Regions from separate parts of the Homo sapiens genome. Here region 1 is linked to region 2. The links are contacts of gene promoters, found by promoter capture Hi-C in human tissues and cell types (Jung and others, 2019). All regions are on one chromosome and are shown on one strand. The core of a region is centred on a gene start or on the middle of the fragment in contact, and the rest is flanking DNA. Distances in the headings are between cores, read along the strand shown. Region 1 overlaps FRAS1 (Fraser extracellular matrix complex subunit 1). Region 2 holds the start of ANXA3 (annexin A3).

Evidence for each region. Contacts are between HindIII fragments. The study calls those that stand out against the background at their distance.
Region 1: a contact is called between a fragment that was not itself captured here and the fragment with the promoter of ANXA3 in region 2, in 1 of the 25 tissues and cell types used here (aorta).

The regions. Positions count from the first base shown.
Region 1 is chr4:78,500,798-78,507,020 of GRCh38, reverse strand. All of the region lies in intron 61 of FRAS1 (Fraser extracellular matrix complex subunit 1), which reads right to left. Among named protein-coding and RNA genes, the nearest start is that of ANXA3, 48 kb to the left of the region's middle. RefSeq lists a silencer at 392-686. The HindIII fragment of the contact is 3,284 bases long and covers 1-2,985 here.
Region 2 is chr4:78,546,544-78,553,019 of GRCh38, reverse strand. It overlaps ANXA3 (annexin A3), which reads right to left and starts at 1,250. Exons shown (of 13, transcript NM_005139.3): 1 at 1,161-1,250. RefSeq lists enhancers at 1-830, 134-885. The HindIII fragment of the contact is 13,286 bases long and covers 1,137-6,476 here.

The DNA.
Region 1 (6,223 bases), core at 94-2,593, 46 kb after region 2:
TCCTTCAAAGCTGTCTCCTGAGAAGTAGTGGCTCAAGGTTATCTACCAAGCCAGCCTCCACAAAGATGGTAACATGGAGGGTGAGTGACCTGGAACAGGTGAGGGTTCAAGCCTTCAAGACCCACTTTGGGTACCGTTCCAAGATGGCCGAATAGGAACAGCTCTGGTCTGCAGCTCCCAGCATGATTGACGCAGAAGACAGGTGATTTCTCCATTTCCAACTGAGGTACCTGGTTCATCTCACTGGGACTGGTTGGACATTGGTGCAGCCCATGGAGGGCAAGCTGAAGCAGGGAGGGGCGTCGCCTCACCCGAGAAGTGCAAGGGGTCGGGGGATTTCCTTTTCCTAGCCAAGGGAAGCCGTGACAGACTGTACCTGGAAAAATGGGACACGCCTGCCCAAATACTGCACTTTTCCCACAGTCTTAGCAACCAGCAGACCAGGGGATTCTCTCCCATGCCTGACTCGGGGGGTTCCATACCCATGGAGCTTTGCTCGCTGCTAGCGCAGCAGCCTGAGATCAACCCGCGAGGCTGTAGCCTGGCTGGGGGAGGGGTGTCTGCAATTGCTGAGGCTTAAGTAGGTAAACAAAGCGGCTGGGAAGCTCGAACTGGGGGGAGCCCACCACAGCTCAGGAAGGCCTACTGCCTCTATAGACTCCACCTCTGTGGGCAGGGCATAGCTGAACAAAAGCCAGCAGAAACTTCTGCAGACTTAAACGTCCCTGTCTGACAGCTCTGAAGAGAGCAGTTGTTCTCCCAGCATGGCATTTGAGCTCAGAGAACAGACAGACTGCCTCCTCAAGTGGGTCCCTGACCCCTGTGTAGCCTAACTGGGAGACATCTCCCAGTGGCAGCTGACGGACACCACATATAGGTGCATGCCTCTGGGATGAAGCTTCCAGAGGAAGGATCAGGCAGCAATATTTGCCGTTCTGCAATATTTGCTGTTCTACAGCCTCTGCTGGTGATACCCAGGCAAACAGGGTCTGGAGTGGACTTCCAGCAAACTCCAACAGACCTGCAGCTGAGGGATCTGACTATTAGAAGGAAAACTAACAAACAGAAAGGAATAGCAGCAACATCAACAAAAAGGACATTCACACCAAAACCCCATCTGTAGGTCACCAACAACAAAGACCAAAGGCAGATAAAACCACAAAGATGGGGATAAACCAGAACAGAAAAGCTGAAAATTCTAAAAACCAGAGTGTCTCTTCTCCTCCAAAGGATCGCAGCTCCTCACCAGCAACGGAACAAAGATGGATGGAGAATGACTTTGGCGAGTTGACAGAAGTAGGCTTCAGAAGGTCGGTAATAACAAACTTCTCCGAGCTAAAGGAGCACGTTCTAACCCATCACAAAGAAGCCAAAAACCTTGAAAAAAGGGTAGACGAATGGCTAACTAGAATAAACAGTGTCGAGAAGACTTTAAATGACCTGATTGAGCTGAAAACCATGGCACAAGAGCTTCGTGATACATGCACAAGCTTCAATAGGCAATTCAATCAAGTGGAAGAAAGGATATCAGTGATTGAAGATCAAATTAATGAAATAAAGCGAGAAGAGAAGTTTAGAGAAAAAAAGAATAAAAAGAAATGAATAAATCCTCCAAGAAATATAGGACTATGTGAAAAGACAAAATCTACATTTGATTGGTGTACCTGAAAATGATGGGGAAAATGGAACCAAGTTGGAAAACACTCTTCAGGATATTATCCAGGAGAACTTCCCCAACCTGGCAAGCAAGGCCAACATTCAAATTGAGGAAATACAGAGAACATCACAAAGGTACTCCTCAAGAAGAGCAACCCCAAAACACATAATTGTCAGATTCACCAAGGTGGAAATGAAGGAAAAAATGTTAAGGGCAGCCAGAGAGAAAGGTCGGATTACCCACAAAGGGAAGCCCATCATACTAACAGCAGATCTCCTGGCAGAAACCCTACAAGCCAGAAGAGAGTGGGGGACAATATTCAACATTCTTAAAGAAAAGAATTTTTCAAACCAGAATTTCATATCCAGCCAAACTAAGCTTCATAAGTGAAGGAGAAATAAAATCCTTTAGAGACAAGCAAATGCTGAGAGATTTTGTCACCACCAGGCCTGCCTTACAAGAGCTCCTGAAGGAAGCACTAAATATGGAAAGGAACAACCAGTACCATCCACTGCAAAAACATGCCAAATTGTAAAGACCATTGATGCTATGAAGAAACTGCATCAATTAATGGGCAAAATAACCAGCTAATATCATAATGACAGGATCAAATTCACACATAACAATATTAACCTTAAATGTAAATGGGCTAAATGACCCCAATTAAAAGACATAGACTGGCAAATTGGATAAAGAGTCAAGACCCATCATTGTGCTGTATTCAGGAGATCCATCTCACATGCAGAGACACACGTATGCTCAAAATAAAGGGATGGAGGAAGATCCACCAAGCAAATGGAAAGCAAAAGAAAAAAAGCAGGGGTTGCAATCCTAGTCTCTGATAAAACAGATTTTAAACCAACAAAGATCAAACGAGACAAAGAAGGCCATTACATAATGGTAAAGGGATCAATTCAACAAGAAGAGTTAATTATCCTAAATGTATATACACCCAATACAGGAGCATCCAGATTCATAAAGCAAGTCCTTAGAGACTACAAAGAGATTTAGATTCCCACACAATAATAATGGGAGACTTTAACACTCCACTGTCAGTCAATATTAGACAAATCAATGAGACAGAAGGTTGATAACGATATCCAGGACTTGAACTTAGCTCTGCAGCAAGCAGACCTAATAGACAGCTACAGAACTCTCCACCCAAAATCAACAGAATATACATTCTTCTCAGCACCACATCACATTTATTCTAAAATTGACCACATAATTGGAAGTAAAGTACTCCTCAGCAAATGGAAAAGAACAGAAATCACAACAAACTGTCTCTCAGACCACAGTGTAATCAAATTAACACTCGGGATTAACTAAACTCACCCAAAACTGCACAACTACATGGAAACTGAACAATCTGCTCCTGAATAACTACTGGGTACATAATGAAATTAAGGCAGAAATAAAGATGTTCTTTGAAACCAATGAGAACAAAGACACAATGTACCAGAATCTCTGGGACACATTTAAAGCAGTGTGTAGAGGGAAATTTATAGCATTAAATGCTCACAAGAGAAAGCAGGAGAGATCTAAAATTGACACCCTAACATCACAGTTAAAAGGATTAGAGAAGCAAGAGCAAACAAATTCACAAGCCATCAAAAGGCAAGAAATAACTAAGATCAGAATAGAACTGGAGGAGATAGAGACACAAAAAACCCTTCAAACAAATAAAGGAATCCAGAAGCTGGTTTTTTGAAAAGATCAACAAAATTGATTGACCACTAGCAAAACTAATAAAGAAGAAATGAGAGGAGAATCAAATAGATGCAATAAAAAATGATAAAGGGGATCTCACCACCGATCCCACAGAAATACAAACTACCATCAGAGAATACTATAAACACCTCTATGCAAATAAACTAGAAAACTTAGAAGAAATGAATAAATTCCTGGACACATACACCCTCCCAAGACTAAACCAGGAAGAAGTTGAATCTCTGAACAGACCAATAACAGGCTCTGAAATTGAGGCAATAATTAATAGCCTAACAACCAAAAAAAGTCCAGGACCAGACGGATTCACAGCCAAATTCTATCAGAGGTACAAAGAAGAGCTGGTACCATTCCTTCTGAAAATATTCAACAATAGAAAAAGAGGTAATTCTCCCTAACTCATTTTATGAAGCCGGAATCATCCTGATGCCAAAGCCTGGCAGAGACACAACAAGAAAAGAGATTTTTAGACCAATATCCCTGATGACCATCAATGCGAAAATCCTCAATAAAATACTGGTGAATCGAATCCAGCAGCACATCAAAAAGCTTATCCACCACGATCATGTTGGCTTCATCCCTGGGATGCAAGGTTGGTTCAACATATGCAAATCAATAAAGGTAATCCATCACATAAACAGAACCAGTGACAAAAACCACATGATTATCTCAATAGATGCAGAAAAGGCCTTTGACAAAATTCAACAGCTCTTCATGCTAAAAACTCTCAATAAACTAGGTATTGATGGAATGTATCTCAAAATAATAAGAGCTATTTATGACAAACCCATAGCAAATATCATATTGAATGGGCAAAAGCTGGAAGCATTCCCTTTGAAAACTGGCACAGGACAAGGATGCCCTCTCTCACCACTCCTATTCAACACAGTATTGGAAGTTCTGGCCAGGGCAATCAGGCAAGAGAAAGAAATAAAGGGTATTCAATTAGGAAAAGAGGAAGTCAAATTGCCCCTGTTTGCAGATGACATGATTGTATATTTAGAAAACCCCATCATCTCAGCCCAAAATCTCCCTAAGCTGATAAGCAACTTCAGAAAGTTTCAGGACACAAAATCAATGTGCAAAAATCACAAGCATTCCTATACAACTATAATAAACAGAGAACCAAATCATGAGTGAACTCCCATTCACAATTGCTACAAAGAGAATAAAATACCTAGGAATCCAACTTACAAGGGACATGAAGGACCTCTTCAAGGAGAACTACAAACCCCTGTTTAATGAAATAAAGGAGGACACAAACAAATGGAAGAACATTCCACGCTTACGGAGAGGAAGAATCAATATCGTGAAAATGGCCATACTGCCCAAGGTAATTTATAGATACAATGCCATCCCGATCAAGCTACCAATGACTTTCTTCACAGAATTGGAAAAAAACTACTTTAAATTTCATATGGAGCCAAAAAAGAGCCCTCATTGCCAAGACAGTCCTAAGCAAAAAGAACAAAGCTGGAGGCATCACAATACCTGACTTCAAACTATACTACATGGCTACAGTAACCAAAACAGCATGGTACTGGTACCAAAAGAGATATGTAGACCCATGGAACGGAACAGAGGCCTCAGAAATAACACCACACATTTACAACCATCTGATCTTTGACAAACCTGACAAAAGCAATGGGGAAATAATTCCCTACTTAATAAATGGTGCTGAGAAAACTGGCTAGCCATATATACAAAGCTGAAACTGGATCCCTTCCTTACACTTTTTACAAAAATTAATTCAAGGTGGATTAAAGACTTAAATGTTAGACCTAAAACTATAGAAACCCTAGAAGAAGACCTAGGCAATACCATTCAGGACATAGGCATGGGTAACGACTTCATGACTAAAACACTAAAAGCAATGGCAACAAAAGCCAAAATAGACAAATGGGATCTAATTAATTCCATCGGTCATCAGAGAAATGCAAATTGAAACCACAATGAGATACCGTCTCATGCCAGTTAGACTGGCGATCATTAAAAAGTCAGGACACAACAGATTCTGGAGAGGATGTGGAGAAATAGGACCGCTTTTATGCTGTTGGTGGGAGTGTAAAAAGTTCAACCATTGTGAAAGACAGTGTGGCAATTCCTCAAGGATCTAGAACCAGAAATACCATTTGACCCAGCAATCTCATTACTGGGTAGATGCCCAAAAAATTATAAATCATGCTACTATAAAGACACATGCACACATATGTTTACTGCGGCACTATTAACAATAGCAAAGACTTGGAACCAACCCAAATGGCCGTCAATAATAGACTGGATTAAGAAAATGTGGCACATATATACCATGGAATGCTATGTAGCCATAAAAAAGGATGAGTTCTTGTCATTTGCAGGGACATGGATGAAGCTGGAAACCATCATTCTCAGCAAACTATCACAAGGACAGAAAACCAAACATTGCACGTCCTCACTCATAGGTGGGAACTGAACAATGAGAACACTTGGACACAGGGCAGGGAACATCACACAATGGGGCCTGTTGGAGGATGAAGGGCTGGGGGAGGGATAGCACTGGGAGGAATACCTAATGTAAATGACGAGTTAATGGGTGCAGCAAACCAACATGGCACATGCATACCTATGTAACAAACCTGCATGTTGCGCACATGTACCCTAGAACTTAAAGTATATATATAAAAAAAGACCCACTTCTTTTTTTGTAAGGTGAGTTTCTGAAGGTGCAAATACCTCATTGAAGTTAAAGCCCCTTTCTTAGTCTACAGACATCCGGGTTAAGTTCCTTCTAGACCTATCCTTTCCCCAGATCTTTATGCGGAAAAGTAAAAAGTGAAAGACAGTTCCATCTTGAGATAT
Region 2 (6,476 bases), core at 1-2,500:
AGAATTACTCCACAGCGAAGGCCAAATGACTTAAACAGAATTTCAATATATCCTTTCCTGAAAGGGATTACATCATTTCCTTTTACTTCCTCCTCTACGGTTATTTCTAAACAGGTTTCTCTACACAACCACAGAGTTCTGGGAACAAGATTCTGGTTTTCTTTACATTTAAAAATTCCCTTTCTGGTCAGTCTGAAGTTTTCCGTCTTCGTGAAAACCAAAGGTGGTATCTTCATGGAGTAACGTTTTAATTAGTTACATTTTAAAAAATGATGTTGGTGAACATAGTAAATGTATCTTTCCCGGAGGGCAGGGTCTTGCTGTCAGTGCTGAACACAAATCCTTGGAAAGAATTCGGCCTGGGCTATGCAATTTCGTATCAGTAGCCAGAGGGGCCTCCAGCGACCCAGAACCTCCCAGCACCTGCATACTTTCCTATATATGGTCATCTGCAATCAAGTATCCAAATCTTCCACCTGGTGACTCAAATACCAAGGGAATGATTCATATCTAGTCAATAGGATTCTGTTGCAAAGAAAACGGTTAGTCTTTTCAGGAAAAAGCAAACTTCTTGAACTTCCAACCCTCAATATGCAAATCCACTGTTTTCTACCTTCTAAAAAAAATAAGTAAAATAAAATAAATTGCCTATGTGAGGGGGAGAAGATGCTCACAGGATGGGTGCGATTCCAAGTCCACAGAGCAGACCTCTGAGCCAGCCCCGTCTGCCATGCCGGGGACCCGAGGAACCTTCCGACTCCCAGCTTTTTTCTGTCCCCTAGACCTTTAGGACTGGGGAGGCCGAGATGGCTAAGTGGATCCCTTACGCTGCTAGCTGTAATAAGCGAAGCTTTCAGGGAGCGAGGACAGCTGAGTATCAGCTTGGGCCCCACCAAGACCTGGGTGACCCACCCATGGCACGGCACTTTCCCCCCCGTGGGCCCAGTCTCCTCGACTCTGAAATGCAGGACTGAGGTCCCTCCAGCTCCCCACCCACGCAGCTGGGTTGGGGCCGGGCGCGGGCGCCAGCCGCCAGCCCTGCCCAGGGTCGAGCTGCACTCGCGGGGGAACTGGGCGAGGCGCCGCGACCTCCCCAAGCCACCCGTCAGCAGGCGGCTGTGGGCGAGGCTCGCGGGGACGCGCCGGGAGGCTGAACTTACCCAAAGCGCGGTGGGGGAAACTGGTGTGCGAGTAAACTGCGAACAAACTGCGAGCGAAGGTGTCAGCCGCGGGCGCAGGTGCTCCGCGCTGGCTCCGGGTCCGGATCGCGACCGCACCCCTTCCTCCTGCCCCTCCTCCGGCCTCTCGACTCCACCTGATTGCGGCCCCAGGCCCCGGGAAAGGGAAGCCGCGCCCTGCTGCCGCCGGGCTCTATCCCTGTACACAGGCGCCCCAGCTCTGCTCCCTCACCGGTCTCTAAGCTTCCCCACCCTTTTCTCCCTACGCCCTCATTTCGCTCTCGGTTTCCACTACACCTTTACTTTCTCAAATGTACTGCAATGCTTATTTTGTTCTAGGCAGTGTGGATTCGGAGATTAGACTGTCCCTATACCTAAGGAACTCACTGCGTGGCATAGGTGGCGGACACCTAACATTAATAACATTGATCTGGCATTTACTTTGTACCAGGCACTGTTCTAACTTCTTTAAGAATATGCGCGGATTTATTAGGTTGGTGCAAAAGTAATTGCGGTTTTTGCCATTAAAATGGCTCCGACAACAACTCTATGAGGTAGATACTATTATCCCCATTTTATAGATGAGGAAATTGAGATACAGAGACGTTGGGTAACTTCAGCCAATTTACACAGAAGGTAAATGCCAGAGCTAGTGTTTGGAACCCAACTATTTCAGTAATTCCTCTACTAAACGTGTTGACCCTCTGGTATGAGGATTCCAACCAAAGGCTCAGGGAGACGGTAACCTGGAAGGGCATTCTAGGCATTTGGAAGAGCAAAACAAATCATCGAGGCTAAAAGGTTAAAGCCCTACTCGTATGAGGGAATTATGAGCAGTTGTGTGCTGAAGGATGTAGAAAAAGTTACCATGTATTGAGTATCAGGCATTGAAGTGCTTGAATACCTTACCTCTTTTATCTTCAAGGGAACTCTAGGAGGTGCTATTTTTATCACAATTTGCAGAAGAGAAAACTGAGGCTTAGAAAAGTGAAGTGATTTATCCGAGACCACGTAAGTAAAAAGTATTGCTTGCACTCAGTCATCACTGGGCCCCTTATGTATTCACCCGAAGGATTTGAAAACTTACCTCCACAAACACCTGCACATGGATGTTTATAGTAGCTTTACTCCTAAGTATCAAAAGTCGGAAGCAACCAAGATGTAATTCGTAGGTGAATGGATAAATAAACTGTGATACATCTATACAATAGAATTTTATTCAGCACTGAAAAGAAATTAGCTATCAAGCTATAAAAACACATGGAAGAAACTTAAATGCATATTATTAAGAGAAAGAAGCCCATTTGAAAATGCTACACACTATGATTCCAACTATATGACATTCCAGAAAAGGCAACACTACGGAGACAGTAAAAAAAATCACTGGTTTCTAGGAGTTGAGAGGAGGTAGGGTGAACAGGTGGAGCACAGAGGATTTTTAGAGGATAAGCATGGCTGGAGCTGCTTGAGTGTGAGTTGAAGAGATTACAGTCTTGGTCCTTAAGGCTGAGTCCTGGGACCTAGAAACTCATTAGAAATGCAAATTCCCTGAAACCCTGCGCCATCAAGTGATTCTGATGCATCCTAAAGTTTGAGAACCACTGGTTTAAGAGGAGCTACAACGGAGAAGGCAGAAGTGGTCATGCTTAAAAGGCCAGTGCCCTGGGAGCCCTCTCAGATCTACAAATCCGAAGTGATGGGCTTTCTGCAAGAGAGAAGATAGGATGGTGTTCTGCATTCTGTTCTGCATAGTAATTCCTGACTCCCATTCAGACTTCACCACAATAAACTGTTAAATCCCATGTTACCTCAAAAAATTCTGAGATTAGCATGAAATGGGGGAAAATATTTATTATTATTTGTGCCAGACACTGGGTAATGCACTTGACGTACGTGATCTATGTCATGCTTACCAACTAGCTGTAAATTAGGTATGATTGCCTCTATTTTGCAGATACAGACACAGGCTCAGAGGGACTCAGTAAGTTCTACGAGTTGTATTCCAGGCAACTAGGAAGTCATAGGGCTAGATTTATAGCCAGAAGAAAATGAGTAACAGGTGATGTTTTACATGTAGGCTTTATTTTAATTGTTTAAACCATTCAGGATTTAACTTCTTTGATTTCCTGATGGTAACTTTAACAAATGCACTTTTATCATTTTTTGAGTTTTTCTAGTTGTATCAACAGCCCAATTACCACCATTTATATTAGAAACATGCTATGGCATATTATAAAACTATTTTTTCCCCAAAGGATGAGTTTTCTTGGAAGGAAATATTAGAGGATGCTGTTAGAATCCAGGTTTATGGTTATCCAGAAAAAGAATTCAGAAAAGGTTATTTAATAAAAGTTTCATTATTCTGAATACACAGAACTTTACAGGTTAGTAAAAAGGGAATTTTCCTATAGCATCCTGATCAAAAGAACAATTTAACAGCCAAATACAAATTTTTAAAGCAAAGTTATTGAGATATATTTAGAACATATGGTAAAATGTGAAGGAAAGACCGACTACGTGATTGTGGCTGTTGAATACATAGCTGCTGTTACAGTGATGTGTTGGAGCTGGGTTATACCAGCATGTGAAAGCCAGTTCCTGAATTTTCAGTTATTTCACAGCCAGTATTAATGTAGACATTATTACAAGTTAAATAAATACAATTGAATAAATTACGTTAAAAGCAAAGGTAATAGGTACTCAAAATTAACCACTTCCTAATTATTTCACATTTTATTATTATTTTTTTTATTATTTATTTATTTATTTATTTATTTATTTATTTATTTTTTAATTGATCATTCTTGGGTGTTTCTCGCAGAGGGGGATTTGGCAGGGTCACAGGACAATAGTGGAGGGAAGGTCAGCAGATAAACAAGTGAACAAAGGTCTCTGGTTTTCCTAGGCAGAGGACCCTGCGGCCTTCCGCAGTGTTTGTGTCCCTGGGTACTTGAGATTAGGGAGTGGTGATGACTCTTAAGGAGCATGCTGCCTTCAAGCCTCTGTTTAACAAAGCACATCTTGCACCGCCCTTAATCCATTCAAACCTGAGTGGACACAGCACATGTTTCAGAGAGCACAGGGTTGGGGGTAAGGTCACAGATCAACAGGATCCCAAGACAGAAGAATTTTTCTTAGTACAGAACAAAATGAAAAGTCTCCCATGTCTACTTCTTTCCACACAGACACGGCAACCATCCGATTTCTCAATCCTTTCCCCACCTTTCCCCCCTTTCTATTCCACAAAACCGCCATTGTCATCATGGCCCGTTCTCAATGAGCTGTTGGGTACACCTCCCAGACAGGGTGGTGGCTGGGCAGAGGGGCTCCTCACTTCCCAGTAAGGGCAGCCGGGCAGAGGCGCCCCTCACCTCCCTGACGGGGCGGCTGGCCGGGCAGGGGGCTGACCCCCCCACCTCCCTCCCAGATGGGGCGGCTGGCCGGGCAGAGGGGCTCCTCACTTCCCAGTAGGGGCGGCCGGGCAGAGGCACCCCTCACCTCCCGGACGGGGCGGCTGGCCGGGCGGGGGGCTGACCCCCCACCTCCCTCCCAGACAAGGCGGCTGGCCGGGTGGGGGGCTAACCCCCACCTCCCTCCGGGACGGGGTGGCTGGCCTGGTGGGGGCTGACCCCCCACCTCCCTCCCGGACGGGGTGGCTGCCGGGCGGAGACGCTCCTCACTTCCCAGACGGGGTGGCTGCCGGGCAGAGGGGGTCCTCACTTCTCAGACAGGGCGGCTGCCGGGCGGAGGGGCTCCTCACTGCTCAGACGGGGCGGTTGCCAGGCAGAGGGTCTCCTCACTTCTCAGACGGGGCGGCCGGGCAAAGACGCTCCTCACATCCCAAACGGGGCGGCAGGGCAGAGGCGCTCCCCACATCTCAGACCATGGGCTGCCGGGCAGAGACGCTCCTCACTTCCTAGACGGGATGGCGGCCCGGAAGAGGCGCTCCTCACTTCCTAGATGGGATGGCGGCCGGGCAGAGACGCTCCTCACTTTCCAGACTGGGCAGCCAGGCAGAGGGGCTCCTCACATCCCAGACGATGGGCGGCCAGGCAGAGACGCTCCTCACTTCCCAGACGGGGTGGCGGCCGGGCAGAGGCTGTAATCTCGGCACTTTGGGAGGCCAAGGCAGGCGGCTGGGAGGTGGAGGTTGTAGCGAGCCGAGATCACGCCACTGCACTCCAGCCTGGGCACCATTGAGCACTGAGTGAACCAGACACCGTCTGCAATCCCCGCACCTCGGGAGGCCGAGGCTGGCGGATCACTTGCGGTTAGGAGCTGGAGACTAGCCCGGCCAACACAGCGAAACCCCGTCTCCACCAAAAAAATACGAAAACTAGTCAGGCGTGGTGGCGCGCGCCTGCAATCGCAGGCACTCGGCAGGCTGAGGCAGGAGAATCAGGCAGGGAGGTTGCAGTGAGCCGAGATGGTAGCAGTACAGTCCAGCTTCGGCTCGGCATCAGAGGGAGACCGTGGAAAGAGAGGGAGAGGGAGACCGTGGGGAGAGGGAGGGGGAGGGGGAGGGGGAGAGGACATTTTATTATTAGTGATGCTTTCCAGGTTGTGTTTATTGCATCCATGTGGTGAAAATAGGGCATAAGCCGGGCGCAGTGGCTCACGCCTGTAATCCCAGCACTTTGGGAGGCCGAGGTGGGCAGATCACGAGGTCAGGAGATCAAGACATCCTGGCTAATACGGTGAAACCCTGTTTCCACTAAAAATACGAAAAATTAGCTGGATGTGGTGGCGGGCGCCTGTAGTCCCAGCTACTCAGGAGGCTGAGGCAGGAGAATGGCATGAACCCGGGAGGCGGAGCTTGCAGTGAGCCGAAATTGCGCCACTGCACTCCAGCCTGGGCGACAGAGCGAGACTCCATCTTAAAAAAAAAAAAAAAACCAAGAAAAACAGAAAGAAAAAATAATAATAATAATTTAGCCGGGCATGGTGGCACATGTCTGTAATCCCAGCTACTCGGGAAGGCTGAGGCAGGAGAATCGCCTGAACCTGGGAGGCGGAGGTTGCAGTGTGCCCAGATGGTGCCATTGTACTCCAGCCCGGGCAACAAGAGCGAAACTCCGACTCAAAAAAAAGAAAAGAAAAATAGTGCATAAAGTGGTACTACTGTGCATCTCTTCCCAACTCCACATTCAGTGAAATTATGCTAATGGGTTGTATTCAGCCATAATGGGAGTATATACAACACAAAAACTAGGAAATACTGTAAATGGAGCTTCCCTTTACCCGAAAGGTCAGTTGTGAAGCATTTATCAGCACATCACTCTTTATAATAACAAGCAA